4 separate regions of the Homo sapiens genome follow, and regions 1, 2 and 3 are each linked to region 4. Evidence: promoter capture Hi-C in 16 types of primary human blood cells and fetal thymus (Javierre and others, 2016). All regions are on one chromosome and are shown on one strand. The core of a region is centred on a gene start or on the middle of the fragment in contact, and the rest is flanking DNA. Distances in the headings are between cores, read along the strand shown. Region 1 has its middle 47 kb from the start of LINC01023. Region 2 has its middle 86 kb from the start of LINC01023. Region 3 holds the start of LOC107986440 (a long non-coding RNA gene). Region 4 holds the start of PJA2 (praja ring finger ubiquitin ligase 2).

The links. The method cuts DNA at HindIII sites, captures the fragments that hold promoters and counts their contacts. A CHiCAGO score of 5 or more calls a contact.
Region 1: a fragment that was not itself captured here is called in contact with the fragment with the promoter of PJA2 in region 4 in 1 of 17 cell types (naive B cells); the score reaches 7.2 in naive B cells.
Region 2: a fragment that was not itself captured here is called in contact with the fragment with the promoter of PJA2 in region 4 in 1 of 17 cell types (M0 macrophages); the score reaches 5.2 in M0 macrophages.
Region 3: a fragment that was not itself captured here is called in contact with the fragment with the promoter of PJA2 in region 4 in 1 of 17 cell types (total B cells); the score reaches 5.5 in total B cells.

The regions. Positions count from the first base shown.
Region 1 is chr5:108,679,223-108,683,846 of GRCh38, reverse strand. No RefSeq gene overlaps it. Among named protein-coding and RNA genes, the nearest start is that of LINC01023, 47 kb to the left of the region's middle. RefSeq lists an enhancer at 1,952-2,452. The HindIII fragment of the contact is 1,731 bases long and covers 1,073-2,803 here.
Region 2 is chr5:108,640,072-108,644,698 of GRCh38, reverse strand. No RefSeq gene overlaps it. Among named protein-coding and RNA genes, the nearest start is that of LINC01023, 86 kb to the left of the region's middle. RefSeq lists an enhancer at 2,077-2,371. The HindIII fragment of the contact is 3,742 bases long and covers 1,187-4,627 here.
Region 3 is chr5:108,723,563-108,727,724 of GRCh38, reverse strand. LOC107986440 (a long non-coding RNA gene) reads left to right here and starts at 3,461. Exons shown (of 4, transcript XR_001742836.2): 1 at 3,461-3,875. RefSeq lists an enhancer at 1-221. The HindIII fragment of the contact is 9,255 bases long and covers 1-4,162 here.
Region 4 is chr5:109,408,651-109,413,375 of GRCh38, reverse strand. PJA2 (praja ring finger ubiquitin ligase 2) reads left to right here and starts at 3,402. Exons shown (of 10, transcript NM_014819.5): 1 at 3,402-3,534. RefSeq lists enhancers at 2,768-2,947, 4,058-4,177, 4,218-4,317 and a silencer at 3,458-3,537. The HindIII fragment of the contact is 12,845 bases long and covers 1-4,725 here.

The sequences.
Region 1 (4,624 bases), core at 689-3,188, 730 kb after region 4:
CTTTTTTTTCTTTTTTTTTTTTTTGAGACATTGTCTTGCTCTGTCGCCCAGGCTGGAGTGCGGTGGCACGATCTCGGCTCACTGCAAGCTCCGCCTCCCACGTTCACGCCATTCTCCCGCCTCAGACTCCTGAGTAACTGGGACTACAGGTGCCCGCTGCCATGCCCGGCTAATTTTTTGTATTTTTAATAGAGATGGGGTTTCACCGTGTTAGCTAGGATGATCTCAATCTCCTGACCTCATGATCTGCCTGCCTCGGCCTCCCAAAGTGTTGGGATTACAGGCGTGAGCCACTGCACCCTGCCAGAATTCAGTTTCTTGAGGTTATAGGACTGAGGTTGCCATTTCCTTGACATGGTTACCTTAATCTTCAAGTTAACAGCAGCACTTTTAATCCTTTTCATCTTGGAATATCTGACTTTATCTTCTACTACTAGCTGGAAAAATATCTCTGCTTTTAAGAGCTCACGTGATTCCATTGGGCCTACTTGGATAAGCCAATATAACCTTCCATTTTAGGTCAGCTGATTAGTAACCTTAATTACACCTGTCAAGTCCATTCTGCCATGTAAAGTAACATATTCACAGGAGTGACTCCAGAGGGAGAAGGTCATGAGGCCCAACATTCTGCCTACCACAGATGGGTTTGGAATATATTTCATAGGTGGAAGTGGAAAGATTGGCTTCAAAAAGTATTTAACATCATATCTAATGAGACATTTATCCCTTATCTAGAAACTTCTTCTTTTTTCTTTTCTTTTCTTTTTTTTTTTTGAGACAGGATCTCAGTCTGTTGCCCAGGCTGGAGTAAAGTGGTATGATCATGATCACGGCTCACTGTAGCCTCAACCTGCTGGGCTCAAGCGATTCTCCCATCTCAGCCTCCCAAGTTGCTGGGACCACAGGTACCCATCACCATGCCTGGCTATTTAAAAATTTTTTTGTGTGGAAATAGGGCCTCCTTCTTTTGCCCAGGCTGGCGCTGAACTCCTAGGCTCAAGCAATCCTCCCACTTCAGCCTCTCAGAGTATTGGGGTTACAGGCATGAGCCACCACACCTGGCCTAGAAGCTTCTTTGAGGCCCCAATCATTTCCTTGAGTTCTCCCCTTCATCAGTCCCCAAATATCCTACTTGAGATCTTTGGGTGTGCAGAAAGAAGAGAAAGACAACTATCACTCAAGAAAAAATTTGAATTTGGGAATAAGAATTGTAGTTTGTGAGGCAAAAAACATGATGAAATGAAGCAGGAATTTGTGAGTGTGGAGGTCACTTTTCCTGTGGCTCTCCTTCTGCCTGGGTGTGCTGGCATGAAGGAAGCAGAAGAAATGAGTAAAGAGAAAAATAATCTGGGACTTGGGGTCATACATGATATGTGAGGAGGAGAAACCAGAAGCATTTCATATTAAAAAAGGTAAAACAGCAAAGAAGATCCAGAAAGCCCTAAGCAGGAAGGGAACAAATAAAGGCAGAGACAATGTTAAGGCCACACAATATCATTGACTAACTAACTGCTTTAGGAAAAAAAAATTATTAATATGTGTACATTTTAAAAAGAAACCATTTTCATAGAAGACATAATCTCACTACTTAGAATCAACCCTGTAATTTCCTAATGATAGTCAAGTATTTACCAAGTTCCTTGTCAAGTACGTTATATGCATATATACATACAAACATTGGAGGGAGGGGCTGTTATTATTTTTTATTTTATTTTATTTGTTTTTGAGACGGAGTTTTGCTCTTGTAGCCCAGGCTGGAATGCAGTGGCGTGATCTCGGCTCACTGCAACCTCCATCTCCCGGGTTCGAGTGATTCTCTTGCCTCAGCCTCCCAAGTAGTTTGGATTACAGGCACCTGCCACCACGCGTGGCTAATTTTTTTTTTTTTTTTTTTTTTTTTTTTGTATTTTTAGTAGAGACGGGGTTTCACCATGTTGGGCAGGCTGGTTTCAAACATCTGACCTCAGGTGATCTGCCCGCCTTGGCCTTCCAAAGTGCTGGGATTGCAAGCATGAGCCACCACGCCCGGCTGAGGATGTTATTTTTAGAAGGAAAAGGCCACATTGAAAACTGAGTGGACAGCTTGATAAATCTAAGATAGGAAAATTTTGCTGAACCAAAGGACCTTTTGGAGTGTTCTATTTTTTCTCACAAGCCCAGGACCTCTGCAAAAAACATCCAAAACTACTATAGAAAATGCACATTTTATTCTACTGTTTCTTCCAGCAGATGTGGATTTTTAGCGAGGAGCAATTTCACGTTCTTGGTCCAAATTTTAAAACTGCTAGGTCACTGTGTAAGAAACAGTTGACTAGGTTTTGCTTTCCATTGCCTTGGACCAGCTAAAACAATTGTGCCCTCTAGCCTATGAAGTCTGTACTGCAAAGGCCATTTCAACAGTGTTTGCTTCAGGTTTATCCTCAATTTTGGTTCTTGAAATCAAAAGTCATAAAAAAATATGGTAGAGATTCACAAAGACCTCTCCAGTTTTCTCTTTCAGTTGTAAATAACAGAATAACTAAAATGAAAACAGCTTAAACAGTGAAGACTTTTAAAACCCCACATAACAAGAATTGTGTAATAATGTAATGGTGTAAGTAAAGCAATTAATCTCACTTGGGTGCATAAACTGACTATTGTGAGGTTCATTTACTTCCTTAGCTCTACCAGAAAAACAAAGTAACTATACTACACTTTTGTCTTCATATTTTAAAAACCTTACCTATTATAGGAAAATATTCCCTAAAATATTGCTAAGTAGGAAGGTATTGATCATTTCCTAATAAAGGCACACGACTAAGCTTATACTGATAAAGTCCGGAAGTTGCCTGCTTGACCTTTATTAATCACCTGGCATTTAGGATACTGATTTTTTTAAAGCTACATTTTAGTCAGTTAAAGCCACCTCAGCATCTTTAAAGAATGCTTTGATTTGATCTATTTCTACTTTTTCTTTGAGGAAATCAAGCTGGGAGTTCTGAGAGCACATTCTGTTTGCTTATTTGTTCCTTTTATCCCTTTCTGTCCTCTCTGCATGCTAGGGCACACCTCACCTTGAAAAGAACTCATCAGCCGCCCTCAAGATGGGAATTGCAATGCCTTCATCTTGAGCCACTTTTAACAGAGTTTCATTTTTTTTCTGCTTTGATTTTGAATAGTGCCTATGTTTGAACACACTAAACACATTTTGGCCAAGTTTCCTTCATAGAGTTGGAATTCAGATTGGTTGTCAGGTTATTTAAAATAACTTTCTGTCTGGATTGGATCACTGTTAATTGCTCTGATCAACTGCAGTACATGGTTAAGGTAAAAAAAAAATATTGAGAAGAGACCCCCAGTCAATCTGATCTTACTTCATAGACACAGACAAATGATGAATTTATGTTAGTTAGGGAGGCCAAGGAAGGAAGAGGAGACATCATTAAAGAGTAAATGTTTCCAGCATTAGTTTCTGGGTCATTAAGCCCTAATGATTGATCTTATTTGGTTATTTTAAAGGCTACTGGAAACTAAAATGGAAACAGTTCAGAATACTTCCTTTGTATACAGAAGATTTTGTTCATGGCAACAGCTATGTGTGCCTAAACATTTTGTGTCACACAAACTCCTGCATTTGACATTTCTATCAGAGAGAACAAATAAAAATCATCCTAGAGCTTTCAAACACTCAAGCCATGTTGGGGCTTTGAAAGATCTTGTCATTTCAGAAGTGAAGAAATGGGGATGCTCTCAAGAGCAAGGGCAGCTTAATGGATTCCCCCAAAGCCCCAAAAGCACCTTCTCATGACTTAATTACTCTAAAAATTTCTATTTTTTACATTGCCTAAAATTTTCATCAATAAGAAATCATTTGATTTATTAATACCAAAACCTCATATGAAGATAGTAAACACCTTTGGGATGGTTAAGGTAATCTCACCATTCACAAATGTATGTATATTATCAGGTGAGATTGATTTAATAAATCTTTGGGACAATAAAGGGTATTTTTCTTAATTAAAAATTACAATGGAAAATTCAGTATCAGTCATGTTTAGGAGTTCTTCCTCTTCTCTAGTGTTATGTAAGGGTCCCAAGCAGCTTGTGCTATCCAAAAACCTTGGGGAGGAGAGCCTGGTATGAGCTCATCATAGTTGCACTGAGATCCTCATTATTTGTACTTATTACATGGCACTCTGCTGATTGTGGCACCTGCCCCTCTGCACCGAAGTCAGCCACTGGGTCCTCTGAGGAGGCTCTAAAGACTGAGGCATTCTGTGCTCAGCAAACAGGCATTCTTGCACCAGTCCCATCAGACATCCTTCTGAGTTTCTGTGTAGGGGAGGGCACAAGTGTCAACTACAAGAACCTACCACCCCTTTACTTCTTCTAGGCTCTGGAAAGCGTCCATACTTAGAACTGGGTTCTCTCCTCTCTTTCAATCAACAGAGCCCTCCCTATCCACACAATCCTGCGGTTAGAGAGAGGGAGGGAGAGAGAGAGAGAGACAGAGAGACAGAGACACAGAAAGATAGAGACACAGAGAGAGGGACAGAAACTTTCGAAAACAAAGACTTAACCTTCTGAGCAAAGACAGCTTCAGACCTCCAGGATACCTGCCCTTTTGAGAAAAGAAAGATGAAAG
Region 2 (4,627 bases), core at 1,808-4,307, 770 kb after region 4:
ACAAAAGCTGCTGAGAACAGGAGAGTGATTCTGGGTTCCCTCTCTGAAGGTCTTTGCTGATTTCAAGGTCAGGTAGGTAATGCACATGGTATCTTAATTACAGCAGATGCCACATTGTCTGGAATGAAATAGAAAACAGGGATGAAGATAATTCACATGCCTCATCTGGTCCTGATACTTTCCCTACATTATCACATTTTATCCCTCTCACATCTTATGAGAAAAGAAACATTATTTTCCCTCTCCTTATAGGTGAAAAAAATGAAAGCATAGGGATATAAAAGAACCTGCAGGCAGGCATTCTGATAAGCAGTGATTAGTAAGTGCAGAACTTGGGGGGCTAAGCCAGGCCTGCCTAACTTCAGAGCCCAGGGCTTTTCCCTCCACTGATTCTTGCCTTGGAGTTTTCCAGGCCCACTTGGGACCCCAGAATTCTGTGCCTCCCCTACCTGTACTTACATTACTACATTACTTCCAAGTCCTTGCCTGAATGGCAGAACCCAAGGGCTCACCCATAAAGTTACTTCTCTGTCTCTCCCACAGACTGCAGGTCAGTTGGGAGATTTTCATTCTTATCACGCACATCAATTTTTGTCAGTGGTAGGATTAATTTAGCCCATTAAGTACTTTCCCATTAGGCCTGTGGCTCAACTGAGGTGTCAAAATTTGATGTCTTATATTTTATGAATTACACTGATATTCTACTTCTTTGATTCCTTTTCATAGTCTGTGTTATGACCATCTGGACACCTCCTTCTTTTGGAGTTTTGGGATAGCAACAAAGCAAGTACAGAATACTGAACAGATCAATATAGTTAAGCGCATTACCATAATCCACAGACATTAAAACGTCAATACCTCATTCCCCTGACAAAGCTTATATCAACAGAAGGCCCCATGGCACAAGAGATAGATTCATTAGGCTTTCACCTCTGGGAATGGGTTTCAACAAGCTTAGGTCACTTACAAAGATGAGTTTCATGGTCTTAACTTTGCCAAACTTCGTTTATTAGTATTTGGGCTCCAATTATAATCCAATCAAGCCAATAACTTTTCCTTACGAAAGGGACATTCTCCACATGCATCCCATCAAATGCATAATGTCAACATGAGAATTTATTTGAGCTGTGTGTGACCAGTCTCCTGTTCTACTAAAAATACTTGCAAACATTTAGACTGAGAAGCTTTGCATATAACCACATCAGTATGTTAATCCAAGACATGACGAATCATCATTATTTTATTTTTTTTAGAAACAGGGTCTTGTTCTGTTGCTCAGACTGGAGTCCAGTGGCACAATCTTAGCTCACTGCAGCCTCAAACTCCCGGGCTCAAGCAATCCTCTTGGTTCAGCCTACCAAATAGCTGGGACTACAGGCACAAGACACCATACCTGGCTAATTTTTAATAATTTTTTTAGAGATGGAGTCTCACTACGTTGCCTTGATCTTGAATTCCTGGCCTCGAGCCATCCTCCTGCCTCAGCCTCCCAAAGCACTGAGATTACAGCCACCACACCTGGCCTCTTGAAGAATTTTAAAACTCAGTGAGTATTTCTTGGGCACCTACTGTGTGCCTGGCACTGTTCAGGACACTGGAGACATAGTGGTGTGCACAAAAGACTAGGAGTTTATATTGTAGCTGAGGAGACAGATAAGGAAACATGTACATGAAGTCATCTCACGTAACTAACTATAGATGCTGGGAAGAAAACAGACATGATAATGTGATGTGGGGACACACGAGGTAGGGTGGTGAGAGAAGTTTCTGAGGAGTTGGATCCACTGTGTAAAGAAAGTGGCCATGCAGGAAGTTAAGGGAAAGGTGCCCTAGATATAAAGAATAGCAAGTGTGATTGCCTTGAGGTGAGAATGAGTTTGTTTATATAAGGAATAGAAATCAGGCCATGGGGGCCTTAAAGTCAGAGAGGTTGGCAGGAACCAGATCATGCAGAGCCTTCCTGGCTGTGGTAAGAGACTTGGGGAGTCACTGGAGGGTTTAAATGAGAGAAGTGACATTACTATTATTGTTATTTTATTTTATTTTAAATTTTACTACTTACCATTATCATTAATTATGACTCATTTTTTAAAAGTAAAAATTGTTCATGCTATGGCAGGGATTCTCAACAGGGGGTGATTTTTGCCTCCTGGGGACATTTGTCCATGCCTGGAGACAGCTTCAGTTGTCACACTGGGGAGTGCTACTGACATCTAGTGGGCAAAGGCCAAAGATGCTGCTAAACAGCCTACCATGTCTGGACTACCCCCTACAACAAAGAAATAGGCAGCCTAAACTGTCCGTCGTGACGTGCTTGAGAAACCCTGAGCTATGGCAGGGAGAATGGAGAACTGGAGAAGGGGAAAGAGTGGAAGCAGGAGGCTGGAGCAGAAACTCAGAAGAAATGTTGGTTATTTGGACTGGAACGGTAGCAGCAGGGCTGGAGAGAGTGACTCAGGATACATTTTGGAGATAAAGCTGATAGGACCTGTCAGTCAGTTAGCTGTGGAAAGTAAAGGAAAAGGAGTCAAGGGTTACTCTCATATTTTCAGTCGGAGCAACTGGGTAGACAGTAAGGTCATTTACCAAGATGGGGCACAATATGCGAGGAATAGGTTGAGAGGGGAAGATCAAGAATATTGTTTTGGACACATTAAATATGAACTCTGTTAAACTTCCCTGTGGAGATATCAAATAAGGGCTGAATATATGGTTCTGAAACTAAGGGTAAGGGCCAGTTATCAGCAGGTAGATTAGGGGACAAAGTGAGGAAGAAGATCCAGTGGTGGGGACCAGGAGAGGGAGGTTAGGAAACCAGGAAACTACAGTGCCCTGGAAGCCATGGGGGAAAGGATTTGAAGAATGGTGCTGTTATCTGTGTTGAATGTTTCTGAGGAGCCAGTGAGGTAAGAGCAAAAAATAACCCCAGAATTTGGGTGTCCTGGCTGGCTTTCGTCAAGGCAGTCATGACACAGACTATCACAGCTTTGTTGGAGTGGACAGGATTGAGTTCTGATTGAAGTGGGCTTCAGAGAGCAAGGGGGTGTAGGAAATGTAATCAAAGAATATTACTTCTTTCAGTAAATATTGATGAAAAGAGAATCAGAGAAATAAGGCAGTAACAGAATTCCAATTATAGAACAACACAAAAAGTGTTATTTTAAAAAACAGGGTTCTTTTTTTGTAAGTCCCAATTTGTGACATTTACTTATGAAATTAACCAATAGAATTTAAATGAATATTTTCGTGGTGTTGCAGGTGTTGGTAAATAACACATGCATTTCATTCAAATTAGAACTCTGTTTTATAAATGAAATTCCAATAAAATTTTCTAGAACCACTGAAAAACCACTAAAACTTTAGAATGGTAATTTTTGGAAGAATGCATTTGGAAAACCACTATACAAAATTAGCTTTAACAGCAAAATTTCATACATCAATCAGTCAGTAGGGTAATAAACTTATACTCACAATAGGCCTTTCTCTTGGCCCTGAAATTATAGCAAGATTTCAATCCTGTTTTTTTTTTTTAATCCTGTTTTGTTTGTTTGTTTGTTTGTTTGTTTGTTTGTTTTGGAGATGGAGTTTCACTCTTGTTGCCCAGGCTGGAGTGCAATCTTGGCTCACTGCAACCTCTGCCTCCCAGATTCAAGCAATTCTCTTGCCTCAGCCTCCTGAGTAGCTGGGATTACAGGCATGTGCCATCACACCCGGCTAATTTTTGTGTTTTTAGTAGAGACGGGGTTTCTCCATGTTGGTCAGTCTGGTCTGGAACCCTTGACCTCAGGTGATCCGCCCACCTTGGCCTCCCAAAGTGCTGGGATTACAGGCATGAGCCACTGCGCCCAGCCAAGATTTTAATCCTGTTGCTGTCACTTCTTAGCTGTTTGACCTTGAGCAAGTTACTTAACCTCTTGACATGAAAGATTCTCCATTTATAAACCAGTCAAGGTGAGTGTGAAGACTAAATGAAATAATATATGCAAACATGTGTCCGGCATGGGGTCCACATTCTCCTTCTTTCTGGCACCTCCACTTTAGCACTCTCTGACCAAAGTTAGCCTTGCAATGACTCTGTGGAACATGACATACAGCAAAGTTGATCATCATGGGAGGCTCTGGCTCTGGTTTTGTCCTCAGCTCACCTGTGATATCTTTGTACCTCATCTAGCACACATCCAGACCCAGAATGGGCTTTGCAAACAACGGATGCCTATTACCTTGAAGCATCTAAATGATGTAAAACCAAGGAAAGATTTGTTTTTGTGGTTTTTGGATTTTGGTGTATGAGATATTATAGAAAACTAAATATGTAAGCTGTGACAACTTCAATGAGAGAATGCCAGCAAATTTTTAGATTAGGGTTTAGACACAGCCAGGACCATAAAATAGTTACTTTTCCCCAATCTTTCAATCACAAATAGAAGGTTTTTCAAAGGAAGGAAGGTAAAAAAGACCAATAATAATAATAATAATAATAATAATAATAACTCTTGGATTATTTACACTAGTAGAAGTGAAAAAAGTACTTTCAAATTAAAAAAATTTCACTGACCTAATATTGAGATTGTTGAAGAGAAAAGAACTTATTTGTTGATTTGTATTCTCTTTTCAGTAATGGGGACTG
Region 3 (4,162 bases), core at 30-2,529, 680 kb after region 4:
CAATACTGCAAGGTGCTGGAGATGAGCCCCCACTCTTTGGTCAGTAAAACTGCCAAGATCACCGACCTTGTGAAGACATTTGAGGATGAGAGGTTGGTTGGAGCCTGGACGTGGAGACAGACTCTAAATAGTTAACTACAAGACACATGTAATTACAACTTTGAGAGCTTATAGCGGGAGGCCCTTTTGGGAAGGGGGTGGAGATGGAGAAGAGGAAGAAAGAAAGGGCTTCCCTGAGGAAGTAATATTGCAGCTGTGACCTGACAGATGAGGCCGAACCAGCTAGACTCGTGTTTCAGGCCTCGGGAATAGCATAAGGACTCCAGCTGGCTCCTTCCGGGTTGAGTCCTTATGCTGAAATTGGTATTTGGCACACACCAGTAGTAGAACGCCACTCAATGCCTTATTCTCTTCCCCTTCTCTCAGCTCTGTCCCCTCCACATAGTAGGACAATGAAACTGGTAACTATTTTTGGTCCGAATAGTCCTTCCATTATTATCTGTTATAGTCCACCATGCAGGTTCTTCCTAACTCCTTTTGATCAAAATAGATATTTTTGAAAATGTGAAGAAAGCAGTATCGTATCTTGTATGGTTTCTCATTGCCTTCTAAGTCAGATATAAACAACGAACTTGCTTGAAATGTTCTCTATCAGACCAAGGACCCATATTTAATTCCAACTTACACTCTGCTACACCCTTTCGCTAAATTCTTTAGTTGATGTTAACTGCATTTGGAACCCTGTATTCAGCGTTGAATTGCACATTCTGAAGCAATTGTGTTCTTACTCAGCACGCTCATTTCTGTATCCCAAGTATCTCCCTGCCTCCAGAACATGTTTACTCTTTAACCACTTCCTGATAATACAGTAGGCTACCATTACTCTAAATAGTTGCAGTTATTGAATATAGGCACATTTTTAAATTATAAGAATCCTATCCCAATCCAAGGTACAATTTGCTGATCGCATACTGATTCATTTTCCTCCCACTCTGGGTCCTTTCATCTGCTGTTCTCCCAGTCCAGATGCCAGCCAGGCATTTGAGAACCATCTGATGGTAACAGGATGGAGGCTGACTCAACTTCACTCCACCACCTGCCTTCCTGCCTTCAGGGAGATTTTGTACATAGCTTATCCTTTAAGTTCTTCTGCTTGTTACTGCTCACAGCACTGTGATTCTACTTTAGGCACCTTCTGTACATTCATATTCATTACTTTTTTTCTCCTCTTTCCTGTTTATGGTTAGAAAGGTGCTTCACCAATCTATTTTAGAACCAAAGAAGAGATCAAATTATAATAACATGAGCATAGTATTATGCTATAGGATACTAGTAAGAAACTCAGTTCCTCCTCTTTGTTCCCATAATATTTTGTGAATATGTCTATGATAGTATTTAATACATTGCATTATGACTTGTTGTTTGTGTCATTCTCCACTTATTAATTAGACTTCTTTGAGGATAGAGATTGAGTTTTTAAATTTGTTTCTTCATTTGTTCTTTTACTTAGCTCAATGCCTGGCAAAAAAACAAATCATTGTTAAATCAGTTTTTAGGTGAAATAGGGATAAGTGGGAGGCTAACTTATCCAGTCTTTGAAAATGCCTAGCGATCCCCTTCAGAATCCTCACACATCATCATCAATCTTCTTACCCTGTAAATAAATATACTTTTCTCACACATTAAAGATATTTGTAAAATAAATTTATTCAGTTTTTTTTTCTATTGCAGTGATATGTGTGTGTATATATGTATATAGTTGTATTTAAACTAAACAGGAGAAAAGGAGCAAGCCTGTGAAGTATTATTTCCGCATTTACCAGCAAGACAATTATCTCAGAAGATTAAAATGTGAGAGATACAACTAGTGTTCAAACCCTGCTCTTTCTGATGCCACAGTCAATGTTCTTTCTTTGGTAGAAACCAAACTGTATTTTTCTTATTGTTCAAGTAATGTAATTAACTATGGAAAAATAAGAAATTACAGATTAACAAAATAAAGCAAAAGTAAGTAAAATTCATCCATGATTTCATCATTCTGAGCTAATAATTGTTAACATTTTTGTGAATACATATACATACACACACATTACATATGCACAGTTGTTTGGGGTTTTTTACAAAAAGGGAATCACACTAATTTTAATCTTTTATAATCTACTTTTTTGCTTAACAATATGTGATAACTCCTTGATTCATTTATTCATTTATTCTAAGGTTTTTCATCCTGGGCACTGTTTACATATCGGGCCAGGTACTTCCTTGTTATGGAGGGTGATAAAAATTCTTTGCTTGACCAAACTTTATTCAGGCTCCTGAACCTTCTCCTAGGCCTGTCTGTATACTTTCTTGTAAAATCAGATTTAGCAACAAACTGTTGAGTCAGTTTAGCAACTGCCCCCCATCACCCGCATCCTTGATATATGATCACCATCAATATGTTCCTCATCCTCCAACATCCCTTAGACGAAATCTAATAACCCTAGCCTGTCATAAGCAAGAATCCTGTTAGGTTGTGTTAGCCAGAACCCTCCTTACCCTTGATGCTTCCTCTTAGCAGTTGTCCATTCACTTCTCCTACCCTGCTCCTTCTCTATAAATTCCCACTTGCCCCATGCTATATACAGAGTTGAGCACAATCTCTCTCCCCAACTGCAAAATCTTATTGCAATAGTCCCTATACCTATGGCAATGATCTTGAATAAAGTCCTCCTTGCCATGCTTTAGCAAGTGTCATTGATTTCTTTTACAGGGCCTGTCCTATGCAATGTACAATGCTTAACAGCATCCCTGGCCTTTATCCACTATATGCCATTAGTACTACCCCTTCTTCATTGTGGCAAACATACATGTCTCCAGACGTTGCCAAATGTCTCCTGGAGGACAAAATTGTCCCTGGTTGAGGACACTGATTTATTCTATATTACATTAATCAATTTTCTTTTCTTGACACTTGCCCACCCAATGACTATTAGAAACTCAATAGTAAATGCTTTGCTTTTTGCATTTTGTTCTAGAAATAGTTAATATCAAATTAGCAGAAGTTTTACAAAATTAGATGTTTTAAACTCCTTATTAAACTCTGAAATAATGCTACCAGACTCTGGAATGTTCTTTCGTCTTAGAATGTGCCCTCTTTATGACCTATGGATTTGTTGTTTAAAATTTAAAAGTTAGCTTTGAGTGAATGAAGCATAAATTATCTTAAAGCAAAGGTATAGTAACATTATGAAAAAGAGTATTAAGACTGATAGCCTTTGGGAGAAGTGAATTTGCTAAATGAGTGACTTTGATCAAATTTTTATGCACAGATATATGTACTTCGTAGATTTTTATCATTGCAATGTCTTTTGTATCTTTGATTTTCAAAAGATTTCTAAAATCAGGACATTCTGACACAAAAAATTCTTGAACATCTTTCAAAGTTTAAAAAGTCAGAAGTTTTTAGAAGCTGTTATATTTTACTTTTTAAAAAATGTTTTTATTGTTAAATGAAAACATATTATAATAATTGCATAAAAACATAAGTATGCTGTTTAATGAATTACTATAATAGGAACACTGTATAATCACCAATCAAGGTCAAGAAGTAGAATATTGGTAGGGCTCAGAAGCACCCCTACCTCCATGCCCATCCCCATCCACAGCTTCCTCTCTTCTTAAGTGTAGTCCCTTCCTGACATTTATGGGTAATACGTAGTCACATTTTTGTTCTGTTTATTCTCTATTTTTTATTTTTATTTTTATTTTAGAGACAGGGTCTCAATCTGCCACCCAGCCTGGAGTGCACTGGCACCATCATAGCTCACTGCTGATTCAAACTCCTAGGCTCAAGCAACTCTCCATCTCAGCCTCCCAAGTAGCTGGGATTACAGGTATGAGCCACCATGCCTGGTCCTTTTTTATCTTTTACCACAAAAATGTGCATCTGTTTACACTAGAGTTTAGTTTTCCTTGTTTTTGAAGTTTATATAAATGAAATTATACACTGCGTGGTCTTTTCTCTGTAGCTTAAAATTATGTTTATGAGATTCATCTGTATCATTGCATACATTACATTTTATTTGTTTGCACTGTTGTATTGTTTTACATTCTGTGAATGTATCACTACCGTTGATGAACATTTGCTTGTTTCTGGTTTTGGTCAATGACAATGCCTGTT
Region 4 (4,725 bases), core at 2,153-4,652:
TTGAGTGTTTGGTTAAGCTGTATTTGGCCCCACCTGTTTCCACTGCCTAAGACAGTGGCAAAGTTAATCAATGTTTTTGTTTTTGACAAATGACCCCTGGGGAAAAGTCTTTGCACTGGGTGAGCCTGGAGTGAAATCAAACAAAGGCAGCCTTGTAAAATCTGCAGAACCACCAGATAGGTCAAATAATGACAGTTCTCTGGAAATTAAGCTCTTTAAAGGAGCTCCAACACCATTCTACTTCCCCTACTGGCTACCAGCCTGCTCGTTTTCACAATTGTGGGCTGTTGGTTTTCAAAGCTACAGTGGAGCTGGACATGTGGCTGTTAGAGTAGGGCAAGTCAAAATGACACAAAACTGGCTGTTCTTAGAGATTCAGCTATTTGAATAAATACTCCCTGGATTGCTGCAAACCTTTGGTAAATTTTCAGAGTTCTAAAAAAGTTAGTTCTGACAATTTTGCCAGTGTTCTCATTGCTGAAGAGAATTTTCAGAGGTCCTTACACCTTCATTTTGGCTGACATCACTTTAAGGCTATGATTAGAACATAGATCCTCTCACTCCTTGACCAAGCCTTCTTCTATTTAAATTAGTGGTCATCAAACTTTACGTATGTCAGAATTACCTGGAAGGCTTGTAAAAATACAGCTGGGCAACATACCTAGAGTTTCTGATTCAAGTCTGAGGTTGAACCTGAGAATTTGCATTTTATGTATTTATTTATTTTTTATTTTTATTTTTTTGAGACAGTCTCACTCTGTCACCTAGGCCGGAGTGCAGTGGCGTGATCTCTGCTCACTACAGCCTCTGCCTACTGGGTTCAAGGGATTCTCCTGCTTCAGCCTCCCGAGTAGATGGGACTACAGGCATGTGCCACCACGCCCAGCTAATTTTTGTATTTTTGGGTACAGACAGGATTTCACTATGTTGGCCAGGCTGGTCTTGAACTCCTCAAGTGATCTGCCCACCTCAGCCTCCCAAAGTGCTGGGATTACAGGCATGGGCCACCACGCCTTGCCAGAATTTGCATTTTTAAAAAGTTCCTAAGTAATGCTGATGCTGTTGGTGTAGGGATTATAATATACTTTAGGAACCACTGCAGTATATCATGTAGTACCTTCAATCCATTGCCTTAGATAGTGCTTCCCAACCCTGGAATCAACAATAATACATATAAGCGAATAATACATACTATTATCTCTATATAGTAATACAATACATAAGCTAATATGTATTTAGTACTTCATTGTAGGTATGATATGCTTTACATTGATTAGGTTATTTAATCTATACAACTCATGAATTGGTATTATTACTTTCCCATATTTATAATAAACTGGAAATCGAGGTCAGAGAACAAAGTAGATTGCCCAGAGGCACACGGCTACAAATGCAGGAGCCAGTATGTGAATATGTCTGCTTGATTCTAGAGTACAGGCTTTTTCAGCCTCCATACCAGTGTTTCTCATAGTAACATAGATCACTTATGATGCCTTGGTTAACTGTAGTTGGGACACGCATGCAGGATTAAAAACAATGACTCATATAGTGAGAAAGTGATTGCTATTCCGGCTCTATTTTTTCTATCCTTTGATGACATCATGATAAAAATACCATTTGAGTGCTGTATCTTTAATGTGTGTCTAATGCTTGGTAGCTTGCCCTTTTAACAAAGACAGTTGTCTTTAGACTTAGAGCCTTTAGTGGACAACAGTTTCTAGCCACAATTTAAAAACATTGTTTTGCATTCATTTTTCTTACAGTTACTTTCAACTTATAATAGGTGATGCTAGTTTTCCATTTATAGTACTTTTATAAAGTCTCCTTCTTAAAGAAATTAAAGAAAATATACATTTATTTAAAGAAAAAAGGACAGTGAGTAGTATACACAGATACAGTATGAAAAAGGTTGAAATTTGGGAATCCCTGCCTTCTAGAACAGGTTAATGTATCCAGTTGGGCCAATCTGGAACACCCTAAAGGGAAACTAGGGAAATGTAATTAAAATATGAATTTTGTTTTTTTTCAAAGAGGTACTTGGATGGTTAAAGTCAGAACTCCTATAGCAACACGTGTGAAGGCAGAGTAATATCAAGCAAGGAATGGTTTTTTGGTAAGAAACGTACTACAGGAGTGGGCTGGGATTCAGATTGGATTTCACAAAATGTCTGGCAAATTCTCATAAACCTAAATTTCTACAGTAAATTTTGGGTAATTTATTTCCATCAACAGCAAAAAAAAATTAGTCTCAGTTCACTGGCAAGAGAGTTCGCTGTTGTTAAGGGGACAGCACAAGAAGTGGGGCTCTTAATTCGCGGGGGAGGGGTGGCGATGAATATATCCTGGGCATCAGGCGACGGGTCGGGGGTGGGGAATAAGAGAAGACAGAGGGACTGTAATCAGATAAGCGGACACGTTTCAAGATGAATAAAGGGAATATGTGCGGAACGAAGAAACAGTTTTGTATCACTGACATAATTAACTAAACTGTTACCCAGGTTTAAATTAAGCAAGGTGTCCGGGGACTGCAGCTGTTGTATTTATTTTGGTTGCATGTGATGGGAGCTGTTACTTCCCGGCTTGACAAACAGCCTCAAGATGCAAGCTGGGAGGCTGTGGTCAGCCCAAGGCTATACAGAGGAAAGGCAGGCCTCCTCTGAACCCCGCCCCAGCAGAATAAGAAGCGAGGGGCAAGGGTCAGCGCGGAGAGGGAGGGTGGAAAGCGCCATATAGTGCCCAGGGTCAGGGTGGGTAAACAAGCCTTTCTTCGTGTCATTTTTTTTTTTTGTCTCACCGATATCTGCATTGTAACTGAACTTTATGCCAGGAGACCTTAACCTTGTTAATCAGGTTTCCAGTCGAATCAGGATCGATTTTAATGCCTCCATTTTGGTTGTTGCTGTTGGAATTTCCGAAAAAGCCTAACTGCGCCAGTCTTTCTGTTAGTTCTCCACACCCCCTTCCCTTTCCGAGACCCCGCCCTTTTCTCTCAGCCCAAACCACAAAAGGCCGCGCAGTTTTAGCTCCTACACGGTGCTCCGCCCCCTCCCCAAACGTCGCAGTACTGCAGGGAAAGGAGGTGGGCTCGGCTGGGGCGGGGGACTGAGTCGGCTTCGTCTTTCCGCTCTTCAGCCAATTGGTGAACTCCCCCTGAGGGAGATGGGGGAGCAGGCTGTAGAGAAGGTCCAAGTATTTTTCCCTTTTTCTGCCACGTCCCAACCATTGACGTGAGCCCACTCCTCAGGTTCTGATTGGGCGTATGCATTGTCCCCCAGCAGAGACCCTGTAAGCTGACTGGTCATCTCTGCTATGGGGGAGGGGCTTGCGTACTCTCCTCCTTCGCCTCCACCGCGGCGCAAGGGGCGGGACTCACCGCCACCGCCTCTGCTTCCGCCGCCGCCACCGCCGCCGCCGCCGCCACAGCCGCCAGCCGCTTCGCGTTCGGCGGGGGAGGAGTTGGAGGCGGAGAAGAAGGCGGTGGTGGCGGGTGGAGGTTCGAGCGCTGTTCTCGCTCCGGAGCCGCTGCACATTTCGGTGAGGGTTTTTTTTTTTTTTTTTCAGTCTGGCTTGTTCCGCTGTCGGGAGTGTGGGGGTCGGGGCGAGGAAATTGCTGCGTTCAGCTCCTCAGTTTCTCTGTCTCTAGCTTCGGAAGGAGCGGGGCTTGTCCCTGGCCTGCTGCGCCGGCCATGGTGGGTGGGGTTGATGGCTGTGGGAGGCCTTCTTCGCCTCCTGGGCCCTGTCCAGCCCGGACCCGGGCCGCGCTCCTATCCGGGACGGTCGCGCCCGCCGCCCCCCGACAGATGACATTGGTTGGTATCGGGGTCTTCGCTGCCGCTCTTTACTGCTGCCTCTTCTGCTGTCCTTGGTGACTTGGCCAAGGAGCCCGCTGGCTTTCCCCTACACTCGCCACTGTACAAGAGTTTGCCCCCCAACCAACACCTCACACCCACCTTCTGCGGTTTCCCGTCACCCCGCGTAGAGCGGAACCATCTTACGCCACAGGCCTGCAGCACCCCTCCCCCGAGGAGCCTTCTGTTGCCGTCGTTTTGCTGGGCGTCTGCATTTTCCCCGATTGTCAGTGAGGCTCGGCACGCAGACACCCCGCTCGAGCCGCAGCAGTCGCTCTACTCCCGGGATCAGCACCTTTCCGCCAGGGCTGCTCTCAGTTAGCGATGTCAGGCCAGAGCTCCTCTTGCAGATGCACCTTTAATTTGGCCTCCCTCAGATGACTGGTAATCATTTTGCGCACATTCAAAATGGTGAGGTTAAAGACGCTCAGACCAAGTTGAAGCAAAGGGGAGGTGGTAAATAGTCGTTTTGCAGGGAGGAGAGTAATCTGAGAGTTCCTTCTCCGGACATTAAAAAAAAAAAAATTTACATCCGCATAGGCGCTTCTTTTGAGTCTGCTGGTTCTGTGAAGTTTAAAATTTTCATTGCAGGCTTAATGTATTCTGTTTTATCATGAAATATTTGGTCACATTTCTTTAAAATGGCAGTCACCTTTGCTGAAGGCTACGGATCATTTGAAGTGTATGTGAATAAACCTGAGGATAACAGTAATAAACGTTTAAACTGTATTTTTCAGTGTTGTAATTGTCTTTTGGGGTTCATGTCATTTTTATATGAGATGACCACTTAATTTTAAAAATTCATTGCAGACATGCAAGTTTGATGTACACTTCAACAATATAAATAACGGACTGTTAGGTAAAATTTAAATATTTC